Linked DNA regions of Homo sapiens: regions 2, 3, 4 and 5 are each linked to region 1. The links are contacts of gene promoters, found by promoter capture Hi-C in blood cells and fetal thymus (Javierre and others, 2016). All regions are on one chromosome and are shown on one strand. Each heading gives the region's core, a stretch centred on a gene start or on the middle of the fragment in contact. The rest is flanking DNA. Distances are from core to core; before and after follow the strand shown. Region 1 holds the start of ZNF225 (zinc finger protein 225). Region 2 overlaps ZNF416 (zinc finger protein 416). Region 3 overlaps ZNF135 (zinc finger protein 135). Region 4 overlaps ZNF587B (zinc finger protein 587B). Region 5 overlaps ZIK1 (zinc finger protein interacting with K protein 1).

Evidence for each region. Contacts are between HindIII fragments. The CHiCAGO score rates a contact against its expected background, and 5 or more counts as called.
Region 2: a contact is called between a fragment that was not itself captured here and the fragment with the promoter of ZNF225 in region 1, in 5 of 17 cell types (activated CD4 T cells, non-activated CD4 T cells, total CD8 T cells and 2 more). The highest score is 9.0, in activated CD4 T cells.
Region 3: a fragment that was not itself captured here is called in contact with the fragment with the promoter of ZNF225 in region 1 in 1 of 17 cell types (total B cells); the score reaches 5.9 in total B cells.
Region 4: a fragment that was not itself captured here is called in contact with the fragment with the promoter of ZNF225 in region 1 in 1 of 17 cell types (total CD4 T cells); the score reaches 6.2 in total CD4 T cells.
Region 5: a contact is called between a fragment that was not itself captured here and the fragment with the promoter of ZNF225 in region 1, in 2 of 17 cell types (non-activated CD4 T cells and total CD4 T cells). The highest score is 10.5, in non-activated CD4 T cells.

Annotation. Positions count from the first base shown.
Region 1 is chr19:44,110,844-44,116,372 of GRCh38, forward strand. ZNF225 (zinc finger protein 225) reads left to right here and starts at 2,556. Exons shown (of 5, transcript NM_013362.4): 1 at 2,556-2,726; 2 at 4,917-4,999. The coding sequence starts at 4,985. ZNF225-AS1 (ZNF225 and ZNF224 antisense RNA 1) reads right to left here and starts at 2,340. Exons shown (of 2, transcript NR_033341.1): 1 at 1,979-2,340. RefSeq lists a silencer at 2,267-2,617 and an enhancer at 2,310-3,009. The HindIII fragment of the contact is 4,811 bases long and covers 1,759-5,529 here.
Region 2 is chr19:57,566,794-57,572,458 of GRCh38, forward strand. ZNF416 (zinc finger protein 416) reads right to left here. Exons shown (of 4, transcript NM_017879.3): 4 at 4,773-5,665. The coding sequence ends at 5,326. Among named protein-coding and RNA genes, the nearest start is that of ZNF416, 9.3 kb to the right of the region's middle. The HindIII fragment of the contact is 746 bases long and covers 3,664-4,409 here.
Region 3 is chr19:58,060,512-58,065,831 of GRCh38, forward strand. It overlaps ZNF135 (zinc finger protein 135), which reads left to right. Exons shown (of 5, transcript NM_001289401.2): 3 at 1,069-1,195; 4 at 2,935-3,030. Among named protein-coding and RNA genes, the nearest start is that of ZNF135, 3.9 kb to the left of the region's middle. The HindIII fragment of the contact is 676 bases long and covers 1,725-2,400 here.
Region 4 is chr19:57,841,552-57,846,808 of GRCh38, forward strand. ZNF587B (zinc finger protein 587B) reads left to right here. Exons shown (of 3, transcript NM_001376223.1): 3 at 1-4,687. The coding sequence ends at 1,025. Among named protein-coding and RNA genes, the nearest start is that of ZNF587, 5.7 kb to the right of the region's middle. The HindIII fragment of the contact is 5,098 bases long and covers 1-3,841 here.
Region 5 is chr19:57,591,377-57,596,401 of GRCh38, forward strand. ZIK1 (zinc finger protein interacting with K protein 1) reads left to right here. Exons shown (of 4, transcript NM_001010879.4): 4 at 1-2,514. Among named protein-coding and RNA genes, the nearest start is that of ZNF530, 6.0 kb to the right of the region's middle. The HindIII fragment of the contact is 4,262 bases long and covers 802-5,025 here.

The sequences.
Region 1 (5,529 bases), core at 1,306-3,805:
GACCTCGTGATCCACCCGCCTTGGCCTCCCAAAGTGCTGGGATTACAGGTGTGAGCCACCACGCCCGGCCACTAGGGGTCTTAAAACGGACAGAACACTTGACCACAGACCACCAAATTAACATGTGACTTATGCTTTCCATCATGAATCGGGTGTTGACCCCTGCACCTTTTTAAGTTACATGTGCAGATTAGTATTCCATTTGGAAGTGGTATATATGAGATTGTGTTTGTGCAGGCTCTGAAGCCACAGGTAAGTGCACCTAATATTCATCTCCCTACTCTTGCTGTATTCAGAATGAGTGAATATAAAGAGAAGTCATCTGAAATTATTGTGTCTCAGCAGCAGAAAGAAGTGGAATACACGGTTGGACGCGGTGGCTCACGCCTGTGATCCCAGCATTTTGGGAGGCCGAGGCGGGTGAATCACCTGAGGTCGGGAGTTTGAGACCAGCCTGACCAGCATGGAGAAACCCCCTCTCTACTAAAAATACAAAATTAGCCGGGCGTGGTGGCACATGCTTGTAATCCCAGCTACGCTGGAGGCTGAGGCAGGAGAATCGCTTGAACGCGGGAGGCGAAACTCCCTCTCAAAACAAAAAACAAACAAAAAACAACCAAAACTGAAAGCTGGTAATGAAACAAATACGTATACACGAACATTTGTAGCAACACTGTTCACTACAGCCAAAAGGTGAAAAGAAGCCAAATGTGCGTCAATGTATGAATGGAGAAACAAATTGTAGTATAAACATAAAATATTCATCTATGAAAAGGAATGAAGTACTGATACGTGGTATGATGTGAATAACATTAAAAATATTATGCTAAGCAAAGGGAGTTAGAAACAAAATGTTCCATTCATTTTTATGATTTGTCCAAAATAGGTAATAGAAAAGAGAGAAAGATTCATGTTTCCCCAGGAATGGGATTATGGACAACAGTAGTGATTGCTTAGTGGGCATGGGGTTTTCTTTGGGTGATAAAAATGTTTTGTAATTCAAGAGGTGGTGGTTTCACAATGAAGCAGCTACTTTGTCTGAGGTTTAAACCCGGGGTTCGTCGTTAAGCGCCAGAAAAATTTAGGACACGGACACACAAAAACTCCTCAGTTTAGGAGCGGAGGTTTAATAGGAAGAAGAGAAAGAGAAACGGGTTCCTCCATAGAGGAAGGGGTCTCCGAGCGGAAAAGGGTCGGCTGGCAGTGAATGTGCTGAGTTTTACAGACCAGTTTGAGGAGGCAGTGTCTGATTTACATAGGGGTCATAGATTGGTTCGATCAGTTATGACGTTTACATAGTGCGTGGGGAAGGCTGGTCGCCCCACCCTAATCTTCTTATGCAAATAGGCTTCCCAGTTGATTGGCCCATCTTGCCAGCTTCTTACTGTGCACGTGGCTGACAAAGAGAAGGGAAGATGGAGCCGCCATCTTTAACATGATTGGCACAACTGCTGGTATCTATGTCTGCGGCAGCTGGATTTTACAGGCTGCTCTTCCTTAGGAAGGGAAATAATTTGGGGCTGCTTTTCATTAAAAAGAAAAGCCTTACCGAGGGCTCCCATACCCTATCTGCCTAAGTGATGGCTTCTTAACTCGTATATATTAACAACACTGTATTCGTACTAGATGCCATTGCCATTGAATTATGTGCCTTAAAATAATTTTGTTTTGTGAATTACACCTCAAAAATATTTTTTAAATAATAAAACGACCACGTTAAAAACGTTTTGCATAGCGAAAAACAAGTCAAAGGAAAAAAGCTTTTTGGTTGAGCAATATTTGATACAATGTTAATATGAGTATGTAAATAATACTTAACGGAGGGGAAAAAACTAAACACTCAATAGAAATGTGGGCAAACTATTTGACCAATTCACAAAGACTATAATAGTGGCAACGGAAAATATGCACGGATGTTCCACTTTATTTACAAAAGAACAAATACAAATTAAAACTACATTTAGAAACCATTTCTTACCATTAGATTAGCAAAACTTAACTCCTCGAAGACTGTGTCTTCTCGCTTGTTCCCTTTCCAATAACACTCCTGTTATCATTGGAGGCGTTTAGACTTCAGAAATTCCTGTCTATTCAGTATTTTCTGTCCTGGACCAGGGAGAGAGAAGGACGACTCTCAGGATAACAGTTCACATTCCCCACTAGGCAGGCGCTCGTGGCTTTGGGATTCGTTCCCAGTGGGCACCTCGGAGTGGCAACGCTTCCCCCTGAAGAATGAGATTTTGAGCGTTTTTCCTTCAGCATTCGGAGGAGTGTAATCCAAATGCTCTGTGGAGTCGTACACACTGGCTCCAGAAGGAGGATACAAGCAATTCTGGGAATGGTAGTCCAGACGCTCAGTGGAGTAGCGGTCAGCTTGGCTCCGGCAGGCGAATCAGGGGATTTCTGGGAAATGTAGTCCAGACGCTCAGTGGAGTCTCGGTCAATTTGACTCCGGCAGGTGGATCCCAGGGAATTCTGGGAAGTGTAGTCCAGACGCTCGGGGTCGTCGCGGTCAGTTTGTCTCAGGAATTCTGGGAAGTGGAGTCCAGACACTCAGTGGAGTAGCGGGCCACTTCCGCTCCGTTACTGTGAGGTTGCTGCAGTTTTGTCCCTGGTAGTTTGGGTCAGTTCCGCGAGACCCTTCTGAATTTCCTGGACCTACGCATTGGATCCTTAACGAACTGGTGATCGAATTAGGGGAAAAGAAACCTCGTCGGAGAGCAGAGGTTTGGCGGAGCGGGGCCGCTGTTTTCGTTCTCGTCAGTGGAGCCTTCTTGGGCTTGGGGCTCTCCTCGCGTCCCCGGGGTGTTTGGGACTTGGTCGGGTCGCGTCTCGCCTGGTTTTAGGGTCTCCGGGGCTCTGAGCTCGCCCACTCGGCCTCCCTGCACCCCACGCGCGTGGCCACTTCCTCGCGATAAAACGCTGGGATGTTACTTAATCTCCTTGGGTCTCCCGTTACAGTTCTTTAAGATGGGGAGTTTAGGACCATCCTAATAGAATCGTTTTGGGAACTGAAAGCGGTAACACAAATGAGAGCCTTAAAGCAGCCCCTGTCACTTGGTGACTGGTGGTCTCTTGTTAATTTCCCACGAAGCCTGTCAGGTCCCCGGGTGGGGTGAAACTCCAGCTGCAGGGGCACCGGCCCTTCTCCCTGATTCCTGCAAGACGCTGGGTGATCCCGGACGCCTTCTGACCTCTCTTTTAGGAAGGCGAGGGTTGCATCCACTTCCAGGAGGGGAGAGGAGCATTTAACTTTTATGGGGCACGGCGACCACGGTCAGAGTGTTTCACAGCCTTCTCCTTACCCAGCCCGACCTTTCCAAAAGAGCTGCAGGGAGGGACTTCTTGGCTTCTGAGGGCAAAGCTCTACGTGAGTGATCCTTGGCTTTTTTCTTTGACAGAGATGCTCACCCCAACCGAGAGTGTATAGGATGTGTCTTCGGGCATGGGTGTTGCTTTCAGTTGTCATGTTTTTCTAGTCTTTAATCTTGAAAGATAGCATAGCTTTCATCGTTTTTTCTTGGTATTTTATCCTTGTTATTTTTGAAGAGTATAGATGAAGTTATTTTGGTCAAAGATGTTCATTTGGAGTTTTTCTGATGTATTTCACGTTTAACTTCAAAATATGCATTTTTTGCTGGAATACCACAGAAGTGGTAAATCTCTCTCTCTCTTTTTTTTTCTTGAGACGGAGTTTCGCTCTTGTCGCCCAGGCTGTAGTGCATGGCACGATCTCAGCTCATTGCAACATCCACCTCCTGGGTTCAAGCTATTCTCCTGCCTCAGCCTCCCAAGTAGCTGGGATTACAGGTGCCTGCCACCACATCCGGCTAATTTTTGTATTTTTAGTAGAGAAGGGATTTCACCATGTTGGCCAGGCTGGTCTCAGACTCCTGACCTCAGGTGATTCAACCGCCTTGGCCTCCCAAAGTGTGGGATTACAGGCATGAGCCACCGTGCCCAGCCTGAAGTGGTAAATTTCTTATTGCAACATAACAGGGGCCATATGTCAGTTTGTCACTTCATTGGTGATCTCAACTTTGTTCACTTGGCTAAAGTCATGTTTGTCAGATTTCCGCATTGTAAAATTATTTTGAATTTTTTTTTTTACCCCAGGAACACAGATTCAAGTTGCTCTCAATATACACTCCCTAATTTTTTAGTTAAATAAAATTTTGTAAGGAGAAATACATTTATTAGTGCACATTCTACTGTAAAGGTGAACTCTCCCTTCTCCTTCATTTGCTTATTCATTCATTCAACTATAAATATTCTATCAGTGTAGATCCAGAATCCAGTCTTATTAAGTTAAATGACATGTGGATGAACAATTACCAATGCTTTGTCCAACTTTATTGAGGTGTATTCTACATATCATAGAAACTACCCATTTCGTGTGTACACTTTAATGATTTTTAGGAACTTTGTGGAGTGGAATAAACATCACCATAATTCAGTTTAAATAATTTTCATCCCCCATTAAGCCTCCTTGTGCTCACTTATAGTTAATCCTCTTTGTCACCTCAAATATGCAGAGACCACCTATCTACTTTCTCGTTATATACACTTGCCTACTCTGGAATTTCATAGATATAGGATCATGCAATATGTGGGCCTTCCTATGTGACTGGCTTCTTTCACTTAGCATAATGTTTCCAAAGTTCATGCGTGTTGTAGCATGAATCAGTACTTCATTCCTTTTAATTTCCAAATAAGATTCCATTGTATGGATAGGCCACAATTTGTCTATCCATGTACGCATAGGAGGGAGTTTGTTGGTGTGCAGTTTTGGGTTACTATGAATGATGCTGTTGGGAACATTCATGTGTTAATTTACAATACACATTCGTGTTGGTGGATGGCATCCCTGGCCACACTTTCATGTCTCTTTTTCTGCCTTCCCTGGTACTTTCCAGGCAGGATTCTGCTTTCCCTTGGACTGTATCACTCAGGACTCTGAATATTCCCTGAAATAGGAGGAAAAATGACCACGTTGAAGGTGAGTAGAGCTTGCCTCTCTTGCTGTTAAAATTTCTTTTATGGAGACTTGTTCTGTCGCCAAGGCTGGAGTGCAGTGGCCTGATTTTGGCTCATTGCAACCTCCACCTCCGGAGTTCAAGTGATTCTCCTGCTTCAGCCTCCCAAGTAGCTGGGACTACAGGCACACACCACCACACCCAGAAAATTTTTGTATTTTTAGTAGAGACGGGGTTTCATCATCTTGGCCAGGCTGTTCTCAAACTCCTGACCTCAGGTGATCTGCCTGCCTTAGCCTCCCAAAGTGCTGGAATTGCAGATGTGAGCCACCGTGCCCGGCCGTATTTCTTCTCACTACTCATATTCTCACAGGTTCTTCTCAGTCTTGGGAAGACTTAGGGAGTACAACAGAGATATAGCATGGGACAAACAGAATCTAGCTCTTCCCGTGTGAACACCTCCAATAATCCTTGTGTGAAGCAGCAGTTAAGCAGTTATAGCCTGTTGTGTTGTGCCAACACGAGAGCCAGCGTCCACAGGTGGCACTGCTCC
Region 2 (5,665 bases), core at 2,787-5,286, about 13 Mb after region 1:
CAAAACATTGAAATCCCAGAGAATGGGACCGATTGACTTCCAAATATGAAATCTTCTTTTTATTTAAATGCCAGTGTAGTTCAATGCAGAACAGGTGACTCAAAAGAACATAAGGATTGAGTGGCTGTTCTCCCGACTGTTAAAGGTACAGCTTTGCTGTTAACAGATGGAGCATGGAGCTTAGTCCCTAACAGAGGCACACAGGAGGGAGAGGAATTGGGGAACTAATGGTTTTGCACAAAGGGCAGATAGGGCTCCTTATGGAGAAAAAATCCTATTTCACTTGGTGGCGCTGTAGGATCTGAAATGTTAAATAAGAACTCTGACTCCAAATTCTTTCCAGGAAGAAGTTAGAAAGAGAGGTTTGGGCTTAATAGGCTGTCCCCATTGTATGCCTTCCAGAAGAAGAAAATTAACTTGTCTCATAATGGAACTGTCTAGATTCATTGGGCAGTCCTGAGCTTTTACATGGAGGAAAAACACAACCCAAATGGAGAGGGAGAAGGGTATTCACTCAGCATGAAATATCCCCTCTATACAGTGCCATGAATGTCTGTCATTAGGGACAAAAAGCTCTCACTAGGTGAAAGTTTAGACAGAAATCCTCTAATTGTTCTAATTAGATCAAACCTCTATAGTAAACAGTTCAAAAATTATAGTGTCAGGGAATCATCTTCATGGTTGCTGGACTTGTCATCAACATCCCCAGGATCTAGAGTTCCATCTTCTGGCCTATCTGGAAAACCTCACAGACATCTACCCAGTACTTCTAACTAACCATAGCAATCCCAAAGTACCAAAACCCCTACTTATTCAGTGGAACTCTCCTTCACTTAATGGATTCCACCTGAATGTCCCCTTCCACACTTGCCATTATACCTGGACTTGAAAAGTTGAGTATATCTCCAGTGCATTAATGATTCTTTTGCACTCACTACTATGTTAATGACACAAAAGCAGACGTTTCCCTGTGATGCTCTGATCTAACTATAGTTACCAAGTTTCCAAGGCAACAGCAAGGTAAATGGTATTTCACTTGTAGGCAAGAAGACCATATATGATGTCTTCTCCCAGACCAGAACACACGGGAAAAAATGACTGCCTAATCTGGGAGGGTGGGAGTACTATTCGCTTCTGGAAAACAAGGTTTGTTTGACCACCCCCATTGGAACAGGGGAAGAATATCTCTATAGACCCAACTTGGCAGCAAAGGATAGACATTACACCCTGTAGGACCTCTATGCTCCAACTGGACTCATTTTTGTTTGTGGCCATGAATGAGAAGTCACATGCTGTAACTACTCCTGGCTCCCCAGGGAGCCATCTGTTCTTTTAGGAGTAGCTTTCCCTTATATATCAAAAACTTGGAACAAAGATAAATGTATGTTGACCACCCTTGCCCCTCCAAGGGTCACAGTCTATAACCCAATAAGGCCCAGGAACACCAGAAGTCAACAAGCAATAGGATTAATTCTGGTGGGAATCAGGGCAGCCATAGGACAAGCAGCACCCTAGGGTGGCTTTGCCTACCACAAGTCAACCCTAAAGAACTTGACTCAAACTCTAGAATCCTTAGCCACCAACACAGGTTAGGCACTACCAGCAATTCAAGAATCTCTAGACTCTTTGGCAAATGCAGTTCTCAATAACACACTGGCATTAGATTATCTACTAGCGGAACAAGGTAAAGTCTGTGCAGTTAATAAAACCTGCTGCACATATATTAGCAACTCTGGATAGGTTAACATTCAAAAGATCTATAAGCAAGTGACCCTGTTATGTATATTTTCTTTGGCTCTTGCTTGTTTAACCTCTTAGTAAAGTTTGTGTTTTCTAGATCAATAGTCCCCAACCTTTTTGGCATCAGGGACCAGTTTCATGGAAGACAATTTTTCTATGGATGGGGTATGTGGGGCTGGGGCTGGGGGCTGGTCTCAGGATGAAACTCTTCCACCTCAGATCATCAGGTACTAGATTTTCATAAGGAGTGTGCAACCCCAGTCCCTTGCATGCACAGTTTATGATAAGGTTAGCACCCCTATGAGAATCTAATGCTGCCACTGATCTGGCAGGAGGTGGAGCTCAGGCAGTAATGCTCACTCACCTGCCACTCACCTCCTACTGTGCAGCCCAGTTCCTAACAGGACATGGACCAGTATCCACAGGAGAGGGGTTGGGGTATCCTGTTCTAGTTCCAGGTAAAGACAATGCTGGCACAAGGCTTCCAACCCATCCTTGTCTACTATTCCAGAGAATGGAAGTGTCCTTCCTTTGGGGACCTTATATGTGGTATCCAGGGATGTTTACTCCTTTAGTGCTAGGCAGGGCCTAGGCCCACAAAATCAGCAGCAAGCAGTCACAGAGCCCCCTTAAGATTAAAGAGGAGTATCTAATCTCTGATGGGAGAGTGAGATAGGAGGCAGGACTCCATACCAGACTGAAGACTGGCTGAAACAGGGAACAGGCACCAAGAGCATATCTACATAATACACACCCACCAGTGCCATGGCAGTTTACCATCACCATGACAACACCCGGAAATTACCATCCCTTTTCTAGAAATTTCCAAATAACCCACCCTTTGCATGTAGTTAAAAGCGGGTATAAATATGATTGCAGAGCTGCCCCCTGAGCTGATACTCGACACACTGCCTATGGGGTTGCCCTGCTCTGTAGGAGCAGCCACAGAGTTGTAACCCTGCTGCCTCAACAAAGCTATTTTCCATCTACCACTAGCTTGCTCTTGAATTCTTTCCTGAGTGAAGCCAAGAACCTTCTTGGACTAAGCCCCAATTTTGGGGCTCACCTGCCCTACAACGCCACCTGATGTCCTACCTCTGTGCTTTCTAAAACCATCTCCCTTACCACTGGAAGAATATAACTTAGGCCTCAGGAAATGAGGATAATTCATGCTGACATAAGGAGCTCTTTAAAAAATAAAAAAGCAGCTGGGCGCAGTGGCTCATGCGTGTAATCCCAGCACTTTGGGAGGCCGAGGCAGCTGGATCACCTGAGGTCAGGAGTTTGAGACAAGCCTGGCCAACGTGGTGAAACCTCATCTCTACTAAAAATACAAAAATTAGCCGGGTGTGGTGGCACACGCCTATAATCCCAGCTACTCAGGAGACTGAGGCAGGAGAATCGTTTGAACCTGGGAGGTGGAGTTTGTAGTGAGCCAAGATCATGCCACTGCACTCCAGCCTGGGCGAGAGTGAGACTCCATCAAAAAAAAAAAGAGGCAGCATTATATAATAAGATACCTGGGGGATATTGATGGACATGCTACCTTGGAGTCCTGCCTAGCTCAGCCCCTTCTTCGAGAATAATCCACTACCCACAGTCCTGTTAACCAATCTCTGGGGATACCTGACCCAACCAGGCTAGATCAAGTTTTCTTGCCTGAATTCTGGAATAAGGACCTCAGACAGAGGGCAGAGTGTGCTGGGCACTAGGGTGAGGATTTGTGTTTAAAGGGCTGTTTCTACCCCAGTGATCCCCAGTGCAGACACAGGGAGACCAGGCAAAAGCATGTGAGACCAAAACAGAGAATACAACAGGACCTGTGGGTAGAGGGAGAAGGGCTTGAGATGCCTTTCTCACCAGGCAGTATGTGCAAGAGGATGGAATCAGAGGACTAGGGTCACCCACATGGGACAGAAATAAAGCTTTACCCAGCAAGACCAAGAGCCCACAGTTCTGCAGCCTCACATCTTGGTGCAGTGTCCTCTGGGCCAGGCCCAAATATCCACATTTCTACCAGATGAAGGTCAGGGCCATGACCTTGAAAGGCACCAATGCCTGGCAAGTCAAACAGAAAGTTGACCTCAGACTGTTAGATATTAGAACCTATTGCTTGGTCACTGGGAAAGGCACAGAGAACCAGGACATCTGAGGGTTGAGCTCCATGTAGGGCACAAGGGTGAGGGACACTGCCTCTGAAAATAGGGTAACTGTGGCAGAGGATAAAGCCTATGATGGGGGATGTCATTTCCAAGTTAAGGTTTCTGCTACCCAGGCTCCTTCTGATTCTCTACCTCCCACATGTCCTCCTGCACTCACATTAAATCATCCCAAGTAATCCTCCAGGTTGCTTGCCTGGCTCCATGCTCTGACAATCATGCTGCAGAATGGAGCTGTTCCCTCTAAGCCAGGCTATGCCTACACTGTCACACCTTGTACAAGGAGATTGTGTGTGTTGTAAAAATAGACACAGCCAGTTACTAGATGTGTAGATGCACTTTTACCACAGGCACATTTGTTTTGCTATTACCTCCTCCACTTTCTATTAATCATACCCAAAATTTCTGTACCAATTATGTCCCATGCTTAGCTCCCATCAGCTTGAGTACCACCATCTATGGAATCATGGGCATCAGGGCACATAGGTTCCTTTGCAGAAGCTGGGAAAAAGCTTCGTCTCAACAGTGCTGGGCATTACAGCCTGTAGAACAATGCAATAAATCCATCTTATTCCCTAAAGCACAGGAGCCTGTCATAACAGCCGACTTGTCCTCAGGATGACCTCTGGTCCAGAGAAAGTGTAGGGATCCAGGCCATAAATTAGGACAACAAAATTCTTGCATTGTTTCCTAGGAGGCCTTGAGCAGCAAGGCAAAGTGGACTAAAACCAGAACAAGAACTACTGTCATTTTACTTTTCCTGCACAGGCCAGCAACATTGGGGCCCCACAAAAGCTGTCCATGCCTTTATGTAGGAGCCCAAATGTGTTTTCCAGCCACCTCACACAGTAAACCAAACCCTAAGACCACACATAGATTTAAAAATAAGGCCTTTATTACCACACAAACCAGAGCAATGTGAGGCAGCCAGTTACTAGGTGGTGACTTGGAGGCTGGAAAAACTACCAAGTGTTGTGTGAAAACAAGAATTTCCATGAAGGGAAGCCTTCCACATCAGCTTCCAGCAGAACCCAGGCTGGGCCCTTCTGGCCAAAACTGGTCAGATGTATGCTGTAATCAGTCAGAAAAGGGAAGGAATTCCCCTTAAAGGCTCAGACTGCTCAAGGAATTTCCTCCAAGGGTTGGGAGAACACAGGTGTATCTGCCTCGCCTTAGTATGCAAGGGTGACTAATGATTTAACTCTGGCAAAGGCCTCCAGCAGTTTAGAACATGCAAAGGAGCTCCTGCAAGACACATATGCCTGGAACTAATGGGAGTCTGACCCATCGGGAGGTCTAGAAGTATGAGGTTTAACTTTAGGCAGACGGCTCCTTCACAAAGGCTCTCTATAGCCATAACACTGAAGAAAGACATGGCACATTCCCTGCAGGTCTAAGGCTTTTCTCAGGTTTGGAGTTTCAAGAGTTAAACAATGTTAGATCTTGGGCTGTAGGGTTTTCCACATTTGCTGCTGTCACGAGGCCTCTCCACAGTGTGAGATTTTCGGTGGAGAATGAGGCCAGAGTGTTGTGTAAAGGACTTCCCACATTTGCCACACTCATATGGCCTTTCTCCTGTGTGAACCACTTGGTGTTGAATGAGGCTAGACTTTTGGATAAAGGATTTCCCGCACTGTCCACAGTCGTAAGGCCTTAATCCAGTGTGAATTTTCTGGTGTTCAACGAGGGTATAGCTTTGTCTAAAAAATTTCCCACATTCACTGCACTCAAAAGGCCTTTCTCCAGTGTGAGTTCTCTGGTGCCTA
Region 3 (5,320 bases), core at 813-3,312, about 14 Mb after region 1:
AGTTGAAGGCCTTAGCATGCTCTGCGCTCCAAGATGGCGCATCGAGTGCCGCTTCCTCAGACGTCATGGAGGCCAAGGGGGCGGAACTCGCCTTTTTATGATGACATTAACCCCACCCATAAGCCACCAGAAGAAACCAGCCTCCTGTAGGAATGTCAGAAAACCCGTACAAGGGGACTGGTGCGATGGCTTGTAGCTGTAATCCCAGCTATGGGGGAGGATTGCTTGAGCCCAGGAGTTGGAGGCTGCAGTGAGCCATGATGTGCCACTGCACTCCAGCCTGAATGACAGTGGAACCCTGTCTCTAAAAAATTAAAAAACAAACCCAGATTTGGCCGGGCGCGGTGGCTCGCACCTGTAATCCCAGCACTTTGGGAGGCCGAGGTGGGCGGATCACGAGGTCAGGAGATCGAGACCATCCTGGCGAACACGGTGAAACCCCGTCTCTACTAAAAATACAAAAAAAAATTAGCCGGGGGGGTGGCGGGCGCCTGTAGTCCCAGCTACTCGAGAGGCTGAGGCAGGAGAATGGCGTGAACCCAGGAGGCGGAGCTTGCAGTGAGCCAAGATCATGCCACTGCACTCTAGCCTGGGCGACAAAGCGAGACTCCGTCTCGGGGGAAAAAAAAAACCACCCAGATTCAGTCTTTAGACTTCTGCTACTAGCTTTATAACTTTGTTTATCCCCTAGGCTGAAGTGCAGTGATGCAATCATGGCTCACTGTGCTTCAAACTTACGTGCTCAAGTGATCCTCCCACCTCAGCCTGTTAAGCAGCTGGGACCACGGGCATGCGACACCATGCTGGGCTGGTCCACTCCTTTATTGCTGGCTCCCTCCATTTCTTATTTCAAGAGACAAATTATTGGAAACGGGCATGATGCCTTAGATTCTAAGATCCTCCACCTCATCAGCAGGGCACCCATCCAGGCCCCACAGAAAAACCTGACCCAAAACCCCAGACCAAAGGGAACTCCATCCGACCCAGCCTGGCTGGCATTTACCAGCTACCCCACCAGCAGCCAGTGCCAGGGTTGGCTTGGCTGAGGACACTCGTGTGATGTTTCAGGAGCAAGTGACGTTTGAGGACGTGGTAGTGGGCTTCAGCCAGGAGGAGTGGGGGCAGCTGAAGCCTGCCCAGAGGACCCTGTACCGTGATGTAATGCTGGACACCTTCAGGCTTCTGGTCTCTGTGGGTAAGGCCACACCCATGTCCTATCTGTTGATCTGTCCCTGACACGGATTCTGATTCTACCAGGTTAAATATTTATAGGACTGAGCTTTAAAAGCAAATGCCTGGGGCTGTATGTCTTGGGCTTTAAGAACCTGACTGTTTTAATGTAGGAAATATCAATTAAGACCAATATTAGCAAGTCTCAGACTCAACCTGAAATCAACAGAAGCAGAGAAACATGAGGTGAGGGAAACATACTGGGTCTGAAGACTACAGAATCCCAGGGTAGACCAGGGTGTTCTGTAGAGCTGTTAGGAGCCCCTCCTTCTTCAACACCTCCCTCTGCACTTCTGTCTTAGTCTGTTAGGGCTGCTAAAATACCTTAGACTGGGTAATTTTAAACAATAGATATTTGTTGCTCATGGTTCTGGAGGCTGGGAAGCCTAAGATCAAGGTGTCAGCAAATTCAGTGTTTGGTGAGGGCTTGCTCCTCACTGATGGCACTTTCTTCCTGTGTCCTGACATGCCATAAGGGCAAGGGAGTTATCTCAAGCTTCTTTTATAAGGGCACTGATCCCATTCATGAGTGGAGCCCTCATGAATTAATCACTTCCCCAAGGCCCCACCTCAACACTATCAGATTAGGTATTACATTCTAACATTTGAACCTTATTTATTTATTTATTTATTTATTTGTTTTTAAATTTTTTATTTTTGAGACAGAGTCTCGCTGTGTCACCCGGGCTGGAGTGCAGTGGTGCGATCTCGGCTCACTGCAAGCTCTGCCTCCCGGGTTCACACCATTCTCCTGCCTCATCTTCCTGAGTAGCTGGGACTACAGGTGCCCACCACCACGCCTGGCTAATTTTTTTTTTTTTTTGTATATTTAGTAGAGACGGGGTTTCACCGTGTTAGCCAGGATGGTCTCGATCTCCTGACCTCGTGATGCACCCACCTTAGCCTCCCAAAGTGCTGGGATTACAGGCGTGAGCCACTGCGTCCGGCCTGAACCTTTTTTATTTTTAAGAAACAGGGTCTTGTTCTCTTGCCCAGGGTGGAGTGCTGTGGCACAGTCATACTTACTGCACACTTAACCTCCTGGCTCAAGTAAACCTTCCATTTCAGTCTTCCAAGTAGCTGGGACTACAGGTGCATACCACCACACCTAGCTAATTTTTAAAATTTTTGTAGAGACGGGTCCTTGCTGTGTTGCCCAGGCTGCCCTCAAGCTTCTAGGCTAAAGTGATCCTCCCACCTCAGCCTCCCAAAGTGCTGGAATTACAGGCATAAGCCACTATGCATAGCCTGAATTTTAGGGGGACACCAACATTCAGACCATAGCAATCTCTTTCTGGCTTCATTTCCAGAGAGGCTCCTCTGGAGGTGACAAGACAACTGCCTGGGGTGCCTTTCCTGCAACCAAGACCAGCAGAAAAGACAGGATCTGTGTCCCAGGGTTGTCCTGGTTTGGCTGCCAGGTCTTCTTCACAGTGATCATTGATGCCAGTGGGCAGGGGAGGAACCAGAGTTCTGATTGTCCAGGCTTGGGTCACATGTCCACCCCAGAACCAGTGGTAGGGTCAGGGACTGAGAGTAGGGGAATGAGTCCCTGAGGAACATCCAGGGCTGTGGGTATGACAGCTGAAGTCACTCAGGGGTCCCCAGCCATCTGGGACCTGGAAGACCAAAGGTGGAATGGGCTGAGGCTCAGGAAGGGTCCTGGGATACAAATGCTCACTCTATGGGTCTCTCCCTGAGCAGGACATTGGTTACCGAAGCCGAATGTCATCTCCCTGCTGGAGCAAGAGGCAGAGCTGTGGGCGGTGGAGTCTAGACTTCCCCAAGGCGTGTACCCAGGTGAGATGGGAGCCCTTCGGGGCAGAGAGAAGCCTGTCCATGCTTGCTTCCTGGTTTCTCCCTCTGCATCTGCTCTCTAATTCTTCAGAGCAAATTTACTACTCAGTCTTAGTGAAGATTTACCAAGCACCCATTTTGCTGTGAGTGACGACACCACGTCCTCATCTCCACTGAATTTATATTCTTGGTGAGGGAGTGGGGGAAACAAACAATAAATCGGTAAAATAATAATAATAAAACAAGTTGGATGATTACAGATTGTGATGAATGCCGAGAAAATGAAAATGAGCAATGAGGTAGACTAGGAGGGGGATGAGTAGACTTTAGCAGAGAGATGAGGGATAGCCTCTCCAAGGAGGTGACATGTGACTTGAAGCCTGAGCCATGAGGCAGTCTGAGTGAACAGTAGTATTTCAGGCAGAGGAAACAGCAGGTGCAAAGGCCTGAAGTCATGCATCAGTCAGCTTTTGTGTAGGAAAACACTCTGACCTCAGTGGCTTAAACCAAATAATTGTTTATAATTCATGTGTCTGTGGGTCAGTGGATCCAGGCTGGGCCCTACGCCATGTGCCTGTAGGGTGATTGGTAGGTAGCAGAGGTATCCCAGCCCACTGACAGGCAATTTCCCATTGGCATCAGGTGGGAAGAGTGGCCTGTCACCAGAGTCCAGGAGGGATGGCCAGTGTGGGAAAGGGTCACAGTAGGGTCCCTCCACATCAATAACAGCCCTTACCCAATATATTAGCTTCCTATTGCTCCTCCTGCAACCAGTTACAAATGACCCGTGAATAACATGGGTTTGAACTGTGTGGGTCCATTTATACATGGATTTTCTTCTGCCTGAGCCACCCCTGAGACAGCAAGACCAACCCCTCCTCCTACTCCTCAGCCTACTCACTGTGAAGACAATGAGGATGAAGATCTTTATGGTGGTCCACTTCCATTTAATGCATAGTAAATATATTTTCTCTTCCTTATGATTTTTTTAAATAGCTTTTTCTTTAGCTTACTTTAAGAACACATTATATAATACATATACAAAATATGTGTTAATTAAGGGCTGGGAGCAGTGGCTCACACCTATAATCCCAGCACTTTGAGAGGCTATGGCAGGTGGTATTTGAGGTCGGGAGTTCAAGACCAGCCTGGCCAACATGGTGAAACCCCGTCTCTACAAAAAAAAAATACAAAAAAAAAAAATTAGCTGGCCATGGTGGCACGCTCCTGTAGTCCCAGCTACTCAGGAGGCTGAGGCAGGAGAACTGCTTGAACTAGGAGGTGGAGGTTGTGATGAGCCAAGATCACGCCACTGTGCTCCTGCCTGGGTGACAGAGCAAGACCATGTTTCAAAAAAAACAAAGTGTTAACTATTTATTTTATCAGTATGGTCAACAATAAGCTATTAATAGTTAAGTTTTTGGGGAGTCAAAGGCTATACACAGATTTTCGATTGTACTGGGGTCAGTGCCCCTAGCCCCCTCATTGTTCAAGCGTCAACAATACTACACTTCGTAGCATAAAGCAAAGCAAATTATTTTAAAGTTCGGGAGATCAGAAATCCACAATGGGTCTAGCTGGAATATAATAAAGATGTCAGCAGGGCATCATTCCTTCTGGAGGCTCTAGGGAAGGGAAGAATCTATTTCTTTCTCTCCTTTTTGTTTTTTTAAGAGATGGGGTCTTGCTATCTTGCCTAGGATGGAGTCCAGTGGTATGATCATGGCTCACAGCAACCTTGACCTTCTGGGCTCAGGTGATCCTCCTGCCTCAGCCTCCTGAGTAGCTGAGACTACAGGTGTGTGTCACCATGCCCAGCTAATTTTTTTTTATTTTTTGTAGAAACAAGGTCTCATCATTTTGCCCAGGCATGTCTTGAACTCTTAGGCTCAAGGAGTCCTCCCACCTCAGCTGCCCAAAGTGTTGAGATTACAGGCATGAGGCCCTGTGCCTGGCTAAGAATCCGTTTCTTTGCATTTTTCAGCTTCTAGAGGCACCCACATTCCTTGGCTATGGCCTTGTCCATCTTCACAGTCAGCAAGGCCTGGTCAAGTCACATCATATTCACTCTGACTCTGACCCTTCTGCCTTTTTTCCCCATTTAAGGACCCTCGTGATTACACAGGTCCACCCAGATAATCCAGTGTAATTTCTCTATCTTAATGTTAGCTGATTAGCAACCTTAATTCCTCCCTCCCATGTAATTGGAAACATACAGGTTATAGGGTTAGGATGTGGGCATCTTGGGAAGCCACTATTCTGCCATTCACTCTGGCTTAACTTTTTTTTTTTT
Region 4 (5,257 bases), core at 43-2,542, about 14 Mb after region 1:
CTGGAGGAAAACCTTATGGGTGTGAAGAATGTGGGAAATATTTTAGCTTAGAAGGATATCTTAGGCGCCATCAAAAAGTTCACGCTGGAAAAGGGCCTTATGAGTGTGGAGAATGTGGGAAATCTTTTAGTTCAAACGTGAACCTTAAGAGTCATCAGCGCATTCACACTGGAGAGAGACCTTACAAGTGTGGAGAATGTGAGAAATCTTTTAGTCGGAAGCCCAGCCTTAGTTACCATCAGCGCATTCACACTGAAGTAAGACCTTACAAGTGTGGAGAATGTGGGAAATCTTATATTTCAAAGGGGCACCTTAGGATCCATCAGCGCATGCACACTGGAGAAAGACCTTACAAGTGTGGAGACTGTGGGAAATCTTTTAATGAAAAAGGACACCTTAGGAGTCATCAGCGAGTTCACACTACAGAAAGACCTTATAAGTGTGGGGAATGTGGGAAATGTTTTAGTCACAAGGGTAACCTCATTCTACACCAGCATGGCCATACTAGAAAAAGGCCTTATATGTGTTGGGAATGTGGAAAATTATTTAAGAAGAAGTCTCACCTCCTTGTACACCAGAGAATTCACAGTGGAGAGAAGCCATATGCTTGTGAGGCTTGTCAGAAATTTTTTAGGCACAAGTGCCACCTCACTGCACACCAGAGAGTTCACACTGGAGAAAGGCCATATGAATGCAGTGATTGTGGGAAGTCATTTACCCACAGCTGTGCATTCATTGTTCATAAGAGAGTTCACACTGGTCAGAAGCCTTATGAGTGCAGTGAATGTGGGAAATCTTTTGCTGCAAGCTCCTATCTCACTAGTCACAGGAGAGTTCACACTGGTCAGAAGCCTTATGAGTGCAGTGAATGTGGGAAATCTTTTGCTGGAATCTCCAGTCTCACTAATCACAGGAGAGTTCACACTGGAGAAAAGCCTTATGGGTGTAGTGAATGTGAAAAAAAATTTAGGAAAAGCTCTTCACTTCGTTACCATCAGAGAGTTCATGAAAGAAAGGCCTTATGAGTGCAGAGAATGAGTCCAGTCTCATTAAATACAGGAGAGCACACACCTGAGTAAGATCTTGTGATTGCAGCAAATGTGGAAAATGTTTACCCAAAAGAAGTCTGCTCTCCTTGGACATTGGAGAGTTCACACCAGAGAAAAGTCCTTACAAGTAAAATAAATTTGGCAGTTTTGTAGCCACACCTCTGTATTCCTTCAGGATTATATTTAACACTGAATGAAGGCCTTACTAGTGTGGCAAATATAGGCTATTTATCCAGAAGTCTGGCTTCAAAACTCACAGGAGAGCTGTCACTACGGAAATGCCTTTTGAATGTAATGTTTGCAAAAAAGCACTGTGCCTTCTGTCATTGAATCCTAGAACACTGAGATGAGAAAAACACTGTAGATGTATAGGTTAGATATATAGGGAATGTTATTATTTTTTCCTTTTTTTGGAGAGACGGTCTCACTCCATCACCCATGCTGGTGTGCAGTGCTGCGATCGTAGCTCACTGCATCCTCCGCCCCCTAGGCTCAAGTGATCTTCCCACCTTAGCCTCCATGTAGCTGGGTCCACAGGCATGCACCACCATGCCTGGCTATTTTCTCATATTAGTAGATATAGGGTTTTACCATGTTTCCAGGCTGGTATCGAACTCCTGAGCTCAAGCAATCTGTACACCTCAGCCTCCCAAAGTGCTGAGATTGTAGGTTTGAGTCACTGTGCTCAGCCAATTATGTTTTTCTGTGTAACATGGGAGGAGATCCTTTGAGGGCACCATGTGCCCAAATTGAAAAAACTCCAGGCATGTGGCATCTGTATTATATTTTTTACTATGCCCTGTTATCTTGCTAGACTTATGTGACTGCCACTTATCTGGCAAAAGCCATTACATCTCAGCTACTTGGTAGGTACCCACATTGCATCATTCACCTATTTCGTATTCTAGAAGTATATTTTGGTTGTCTCCCATTCACGAGAGATTTTTTTTTTAAGTTTTTTGTTTGGTTGGTTGGTTGGTTGGTTGGTTGTTTTTTTTTGTTTTTTTTTTTTTTTTTTTTGGAGACAAAGTTTCACTGTCACCGATACTGGAGTGCAGTGGTGTGATCCTGGTTCATTGCAACCTCTGCCTCCTGAGTTCAAGCAATTCTCCTTTCTCAGCCTCCTGAGTAGCTGGGATTACAGGTGCCTGCCACCACACCCAGGTAATTTTTGTACTTTTAGTAGAGATGGGGTTTCACTATGTTGGTCAAACTGATCTTGAACTCCTAACCTCGTGATCCACCTGCCTTGGCCTCCCAAAGTGCTGGGATTACAGTGTGAGCCTCTGCTTCTGGCCTTTTTAAAAATTTTTTAAATTTATATTTTTTGTAGAGACAGGGTCTTGCTGTGTTGCACAGTCTGGTCTCAAACTGCTGGTCTCGAGTGATCCTTCTGCCTGGCTTCCCAGAATGTTGGGATTATAGGCGTGGCATAAGTCACCATGCTGGGACTTTTTTATTTCTTTAATTTTTAATTCCAGATCTGGTCACAGAAGGATTTGTTGAGTAGCCTCAGCACTTCTTGCTTTTTCATTTCTTTCTGATAAGTTACACCATGGACCTTCCCCATTTTTGTCCCAGAGGACTCTTGTGCTGACTTGAAAAGATGGACTATTTTGGCTAAGCATGGTGGCTCATGCCTGTAATCCCAACACTTTGGGAGGCCGAGGTGGGTGGATCACAAGGACAGGAAGGAGTTCAAGACCAGCCTGGGCAATATAGTGAAATCCTGTCTCTTCTAAAAATATAAAAATTAGCCGGGCATGGTGGCGCACCTGTAGCCGCAGCTACTCAGGAGGCTGAGGCAGGAAAATTGCTTGAACCCCGGGAGGTAGAGGTTGCAGTGAGCTGAGATCATGCCACTGCACTCCAGCCTGGGTCCTGCTACCTTGAAGGACAGCATAGCTAAACTGCGTGGCCCAAGGGACAGCATGAATGCAGAATATAGCTTTCTTCACTTGTGGCCTATTTGCATAGCTGCCCAAGGCCTCCAGTGGACGACTTCATGGCTTTGTGGTCTTCATCTGTAGCATGGATACTACAGATTGTGGGTTCATAGGTCAGCTGGGTACAGGGCAGTTTTTATAACAACCTCTGGTGGGTTTTTTATTTTAGTGTCAATATCACACTGAAAGATTGGTGATTTTTTTTGAACCAGACAAAATTCTCTCTTATGAGGTATATTGCACTGTGCTCGGTACTGTTGAGGGAACTCTGTTCAGCAGATCTTACAAGGCACACATGTGCCATGATATCCAGAATTCTGTAAGGCAACATCACAGGTTGTAAGGCTATAGGATGAAATTATAATTTTATGGTTACTTAGTTACTGCATTTATAGTCAGCAGAGGGGACAGCAATAAAGTTTTTGAAATATATCTTTTTTTTTTTTTTGAGACACAGTCTCACTCTGTCACCCAGGCTAGAGTGCTGTTGCACCATCTCGGCTCACTGCAACCTGTGCCTTCTGGGTTCAAGCGATTCTCCCACCTCAGTCACCCAAGTAGCTAGAATTACAGGTGCATGCCACCACACCACTAATGTTTTGTGGTTTTAGTAGAGACGGGTTTCACCGTGTTGCACAGACTGGTCTTGAATTCAACTCTTGAGCTCAGGTGATCTGCTCACCTCCGCCTTCCAAAGTGCTGGGACTACAGGTGTGGGCCGCTGTGTTTGGCTGAAATGTATGTCTTTTAAAGGAGTGTCCACAGTTATCCAGTCACTGTGTCTGTGATGGATAAGCAGATACAGAAATTCTCAAGACTTCCATAATAATGAATGTTGTGTAGCTAAGCTTTGGTCAGAGGAAATAATCTAAAGGTTTTGTGAATTCATGTAACCTTTTGGGCTGCTCACCTTAAGGTAACTCCTGTATTAACAGGAGGAACAGAATAGGGAAAAAGATCTCAGTTCAGTGATGTAGCTTTGTGACCAGCCAGTGATCCAGTTCAATCAGGTAGAAATGACCTTCCTGCTACATCAATATTTGCTTCTATGGAGGCTAGTTTCCCCACTTAGGGCATGAGAAGAATTGGTAAAGTCAACATAAAATTGCCAAACCTGTCACCAAAAATGATGGCAAATCTGTATTTTTCTCTTAAACCGTGTTATAAAAGCTGTAATAAGGTATAGGCTGAGCATCATGGCTCATGCCTGTATTCCCAGCACTTTGGGAGGCCAGATTCCTTGAGACCAGTGTGGGGAACATGGCAAAACCTTGTCTCTAGGAAAAATAGCCAGGTATGGTGGCATGTACCTTAGTCTTAGTGATGTGGGAGGATTGCTTGAGCCTGGGAGGCAGAAGTTGCAGTGAGCTAAGATTGCAACGCTGCAGTCCAGCCTGGGTGATAGAGTGAGACCCCATCTTAAAAATAAAATAAAGATATAAATGACATCCAATAAAGTACACATATTTGAGCTGTAGGATAAGTCTTGAATTTTATTATAATCCCGTGAAACCATCATCAGAGTCACCATAATGAATTTATCTAATCTATCACCTTTGTATTTACTTGGAGCCTTTATAAAGTTTTTCTCTCTGCTCTTCAAACAACCATTGATTTACTTTGCTGTATGATGGAGTACTTTCCATTTTCTGGAATTTTCTGACTGATGTAATAAAGTGTTTCCTCTTATAATCCCTGGGTGCTCTCCTGCATCATGCTTATTTTGATGTCATTGTAGATATATGAGTTGTTCATTCGTTTTATGTTGCTGAGAAGTATAGTCTGCCGTGAAATGTCATTGTATATTCATTCATTCATCCATCCATTTATGGATATTTTAGTTGCTGCATACTTTTTTTTTTTTTTTTTTTCAAGACTCTCTACCAGGTTGGAGTGCAGTGGTGTGATTTTGGCTCATTGCAACCTCCACCTCCCAGGTTCAAGTGAGTCTCCCACCTCAGCCTCCCACGTAGCTGGGATTACATGCGTAAGCCATCATGCCCAGCTGTTTTTTGTATTTTTAGTAGAGATGGGGTTTCACTGTGTTACCGGGTTCATCTCAAACTCTGGGCCTCAAGTGATCTGCCTGCATTGGCCTACAAAAGTGCTCAGATTACAGGCCTGAGCCATGAGCCACCGCACCTGTAATTGATTCTGAGGCCAGGCACGATGGCTCACGCCTATAATCCCAGCACTTTGGGAAGCGCAGGTGGGTGGATCACTTGAGGTCAGGAGTTTGAGACCAGGCTGGCCAACATGGTG
Region 5 (5,025 bases), core at 1,683-4,182, about 13 Mb after region 1:
GGAAAGTGCTGTCTCTGTAGTATTGTAGCAGTAGAGAGCCTTTGTGAGGGAGCCATCTGCCTGAAGTTGAACCTCATTCTTCCTTGTTTCTCTGGTAGAAACCATCTACCCTCTACCACCTTGCACAGTGGGCACTGGTCACTCCTATGTGCTAAGACAAGGCAGACATCTGTGTGTTCTCTTAAGTCTTTGGAGGAAATCTTGAGCAGTCTAAGCCTTTAGAGAAAATTCATTCTTTTTTCTGACTGATCACAGCATACGTGTGACCCAGTTTGGGTCAGGAGGGCCCAGCCTTGGTTCTGCTGGACACTTATGTGCAAGGATTCCCTTCATGTAAATTCTTGGTCTCACATGACACTTGGTCATTCTTCCAGCCTCCATGTCACCACGTGGTGAATGGCTGCCTCACATTGCTCCAGTTTGTGCACTAATAAAAGCCTTATATTTGAATCTACCTGTAGTCTTGGGGTTCTGTTTACTGTGTGGGGTGGCTGGGAGACAGACTTCAACTCTATATGAAGGAATGGATGGCTTTTGTGGGCCTCTGCAGGAAAGTAAGATGACAGAGTAATTCTAATTCTGGTTTTGGTCATACTTGCTTTGCTACCTAAAATCTCCTAGGAAAAAATGCAAGGTTTTGGTTATTCTAATTTGTGGCCTGGATCCCTATTCTTTCTGTGAGACTAGAGGTCATCCTGAGGAGAGGCCAGCTGTTATGACAAGCATGTGTGCTTCAGGGAATAGGACAATTTTATTCCATTGTTTCCAGAGGATGTCATATGATGCCCAGTGCTGCTGAGAAGCTTTTCATGGGGTTCTATAAGGAGGCATGCCCTGATATCAAACATTCCATAGGCCGATGTCACGCAGAAGACAACGCGAGTCACATGTGAACTGTAATTGGTACAGAAATACCTGGGTATTTCTGTACTGTGTGTACTGTAGCAAACTAGTTGGAATGTGCCTCTTATAAAAGTACATTTACAAATCTTCCCGTGACTGTGGCTTTGAGCAGTCATAGGACCTAGAAATCTGTGTATGTCCAATAGCTGAGGTTATTTTCAGCAAAAATAATTAAAGGGTTTTATTTTTTAATTCTTGTTGGTTTTCTAGGTTGTTCACCTCAAGTGCATTGCTGTAGAGGCAGAAAAAGGAGGATAAAGATAACAGAAGTCCTATAGGCCAGGGATGTATTGATAGCTCTTGTGATTTCCACCAGTGTTGCTGTTGTCTCAAATTGCCACAGCCTTCATTGCTTGCCAACATTTCCTGCATGGAGGGACTCATGGTTGCCCTTCCCCAGGCCTGAAGAGAGAGTGCAGTCAACATGAGATTGCTAGGCATTCTGGTTTCTGAAAGTTGGGTGATCAGATACTTTATTGTGAAACATGTTTTACAAACTTTCTTGATGTGTAAGTGACATGCCATAGTTTACATCCATTTATGGTGTATAATTTGAAGAGTTTGTCATACAAGCCTGTGAAACCATAATCATGATCATGAACATATTCATGATTCACCTCTTGCTGTTTTACAATCTCTGCGTGTACTTTCCAGGCCTTCAGGAGTCCTGTCATTTACTTTCCCTACAGGAGAATAGTTTGTGTTTTCTAGGATTTTATGTGAATTGAAACGTAAAATACTTACTCCATTTTTCCTGATGATGCACAATTTTTTTTTTTTTTTTGAGATGGAGTCTCAGTCTGTCACCAGGCTGGAGTGCAGTGGCATGATCTTGGCTCACTCCAACCTCCTCCTGGGTTCCAGCGATTCTCCTGCCTCAGCCTCCTGAGAAGCTAGGACTACAGGCATGCACTACCACGCCCAACTAATTTTTGTATTTTTAGTAGAGATGTGGTTTTACCATGTTTGCCAGGATGGTCTTGATCTCTTGACCTCGTGATCCGCCCGCCTCAGCCTCCCGAAGTGCTGGGATTACAGGCGTAAGCCACCACACCAGCTGATGCACAATTACTTTTAAGATTTATCAATATTGCTTATGTGAATAGTTCATTTGTATTGCTGAGAAATAGTCTGTGGATATGTCACAATTTGGATAAACAGTTGGATGCTTTCCAGTTTTGGGCTGTTGCAAATAATGCTACTATGAACATAGGCATATAACTCTTAATATGCAGAAATGCTTTATTTCTCCTGTGTCAGTAGTACAGTGTACGTGAATGCGTCACTTTTAAAGACAAGGCCAGACTATAACCTAACTGTACCATTTGCATTCTCATCAACAGTATGTGAACCTTCTTATTTCTCTACATTCTTGCCATACTTGGTATGGTTAGTCTTTTTAATTTTAGTTGTTTTAATAGCTGTATAATAGCATCTGTCTGTGATTTTATTGCATTTTTCTGGTATTTTATGGTATTGAACATTTGAACATCTTGTATCTAGTTGCCACCTGTATATCCTCTTTGGAAGAATGTTTATTAATGTCTTTTGCTTATTTTTAAATGGATGTTGGTGATACTTTTTCATTAATAAATAGACGTATAACAAAGACTTATGTTGAAACTTTACTCATTCTTCAGTAATGTGATGCACTTATTTGCTAAATGATAAAATTGTTTTCAAATACTGGGAAAATAATTTCTCAGTTTTTTGGTCTATTCACAGTGTAACAACTACAGACACTATATACCTGAAACACTACCTTCATTGACAAATTCTCCATCACTTTCTTAGGTCTAACCATTCAATGAAACAAATAAGCCCTGGTTTTTAATATTTGCCAATTTCCCTGGTAAAATACTCCCACCATGGCCAATTACAAGGTGTCAAAATAATGTCACTGAACATGAATTGAGAAGAAGTGGGTAGCGTCACACCACTGTATTCTACTTTCACCATGCCAATACAGTAGCCGCAGATAACCTGAAGATCATGTATGTAGGAACCATACAGCCTGTGGTGTGGCAAGACTGATGCCATCTTGAAGTGAAGCTGTCATGGTCACCTATGTTCTGAAGCAGTAGCATAGATATCATCAAAATGCTTCTCTCCCCCAATGGTCATGAGTCTTGGCAAGAAAGTCTGAAGACGTGAAGAGCTGCACGTTTTACCCTAAAAACTCCAGGCCGGGCGTGTTGGCTCTTGCCTGTAATCCCAACACTTTGGGAGGCCAAGGTGGGCAGATCACGAGGTCAGGAGATGGAGACCATCCTGGCTAACATGGTGAAACCCCATCTCTACTAAAAATAGAAAAATTAGCCGGTTGTGGTGGCTTACGGGTGCCTGTAATCCCAGCTACTTGGGAGGCTGAGGCAGGAGAATCACTTGAATCCAGGAGGTGGAGGTTGCAGTGAGCCGAGATCACGCCATTGCACTCCAGCCTGGCAACAGAGCAAGACTCCGTCTAGAAAAACAAACAAACAAAAAACTCCAGCCTTGTTGACCACTACAAAAAGGGTCCTATAAAGGATGTAAAGGAAACTGCCTTCTGGAGGGCAGATACAGGGATCCATTGTCTCACAGCTGCACAAGACATCACTTCTGTTCATGAGTCCCTATGAAATGTTTCTGAAAACAATTTGGCCTCTTCCTCCTTCTTTGGCCTTTCAGCTTCGTTGGCCTTTGGGATAGATTTTCATACACCTGCTCACTATAGAACAATGTATATATAAGAGTAAAACAGTAAAATGATTAAGAATTGACTTTTGAGTATTTATTACTTGTGTTTTTAAAAGTGGCTTAAGTGAAATCTAGTTGTCTTAAATTCTGCATATTTAAAGTATACAATTTCTATTTTAATATATACTCGAAACCATAAGTTTCCACCTGCCCTTTTTAGTCCATCCCTCTTAACAAGTAATGGGTACAAAAACTTATTTTTCCTCTTCTAATGGATATTTTCAAGTATATACACAAATGGAAAGGACTGTGTTCAGATGCACTATGAAACCTTTCTAAATCTTCCATTATTACTTATCATTTAGTAGCCATTCTTGTTTCAACTCTTTTCACACATAATTATTTTACTTACAATTCCCACATCTTGTCATTCAATGCTGCACCTCTTCAGAATGCATTTTCAAGCATAAGAGCTCTTTCATAATTCCTATAACTTTATCAATCATTATTTAAGGCATCATAAAATATATCATCAGTGCTCAGTCACCTCGAATTGTCTCCAAAATTGATTTTTAAGACAAATTCATTGCAATCAGATCCAAAATGAATCTATATGGCTATTAGTAGTTTCATCTGGTGAGTCTATAATAATACACAGCTACCACTTTTTATTATTATTCTTGAAGTTGATGAGACATTTGTCCAGAATTTGCCACATTCTGGAATGGTGCGTGTTTTTGTTTTGTGTCTCTCTGATGTCATTTAACATGCTGACCCTTTCTCCATATTCCTGTGCACTAGATATTAAGGAAATGGGTAACTGAACTCTGGTCCTGCAGATAGGTGTGCAATAGTAACACACTTATGCAGTGTGACTGTGTTGTGTGTATGTGTATGTCTATTCAAAAGGTGACATTCACAGACATCTGGAGGCTTAGAGATTATTGAAAAAGTAAAAAAGGAAGAAGCACTTTGTTTTTGCTTCCTCTAAGATACCTGAGAAGGTTTCTCAACTGATTTGAAATGTGAAACAATGCCAAAACAATTACCATAGATCCAGTAATACTGCTTCTTGGTTTTACTGAAATGAGTTAAACATTTATGTCCACACAAAATCTTGTACATGAATATTTATAGCACCTTTGTTCATAATTGGCAAAATTTGGTAGCAACCAAAATGTCCTTCAGTAAGTGAACAGGTAAGTGTGGTACATTTAGAAAATGGTATATTTATCCACATTAAAATAAATAATAAAAGATATGGAAGAACTTAAATACATATTTCTAAGTGAAAGGATCTGATATGGTTTGGCTGTGTCCCCACTCAAATCTCATCTTGAATTATAAGTACCACATGTCATGGGAGGAACCCAGTGGGAGGTGATTGAATTATAGGAGTGGGTTTTTCCCACGCTGTTCTCATGACAGTAAATTAGTCTCACG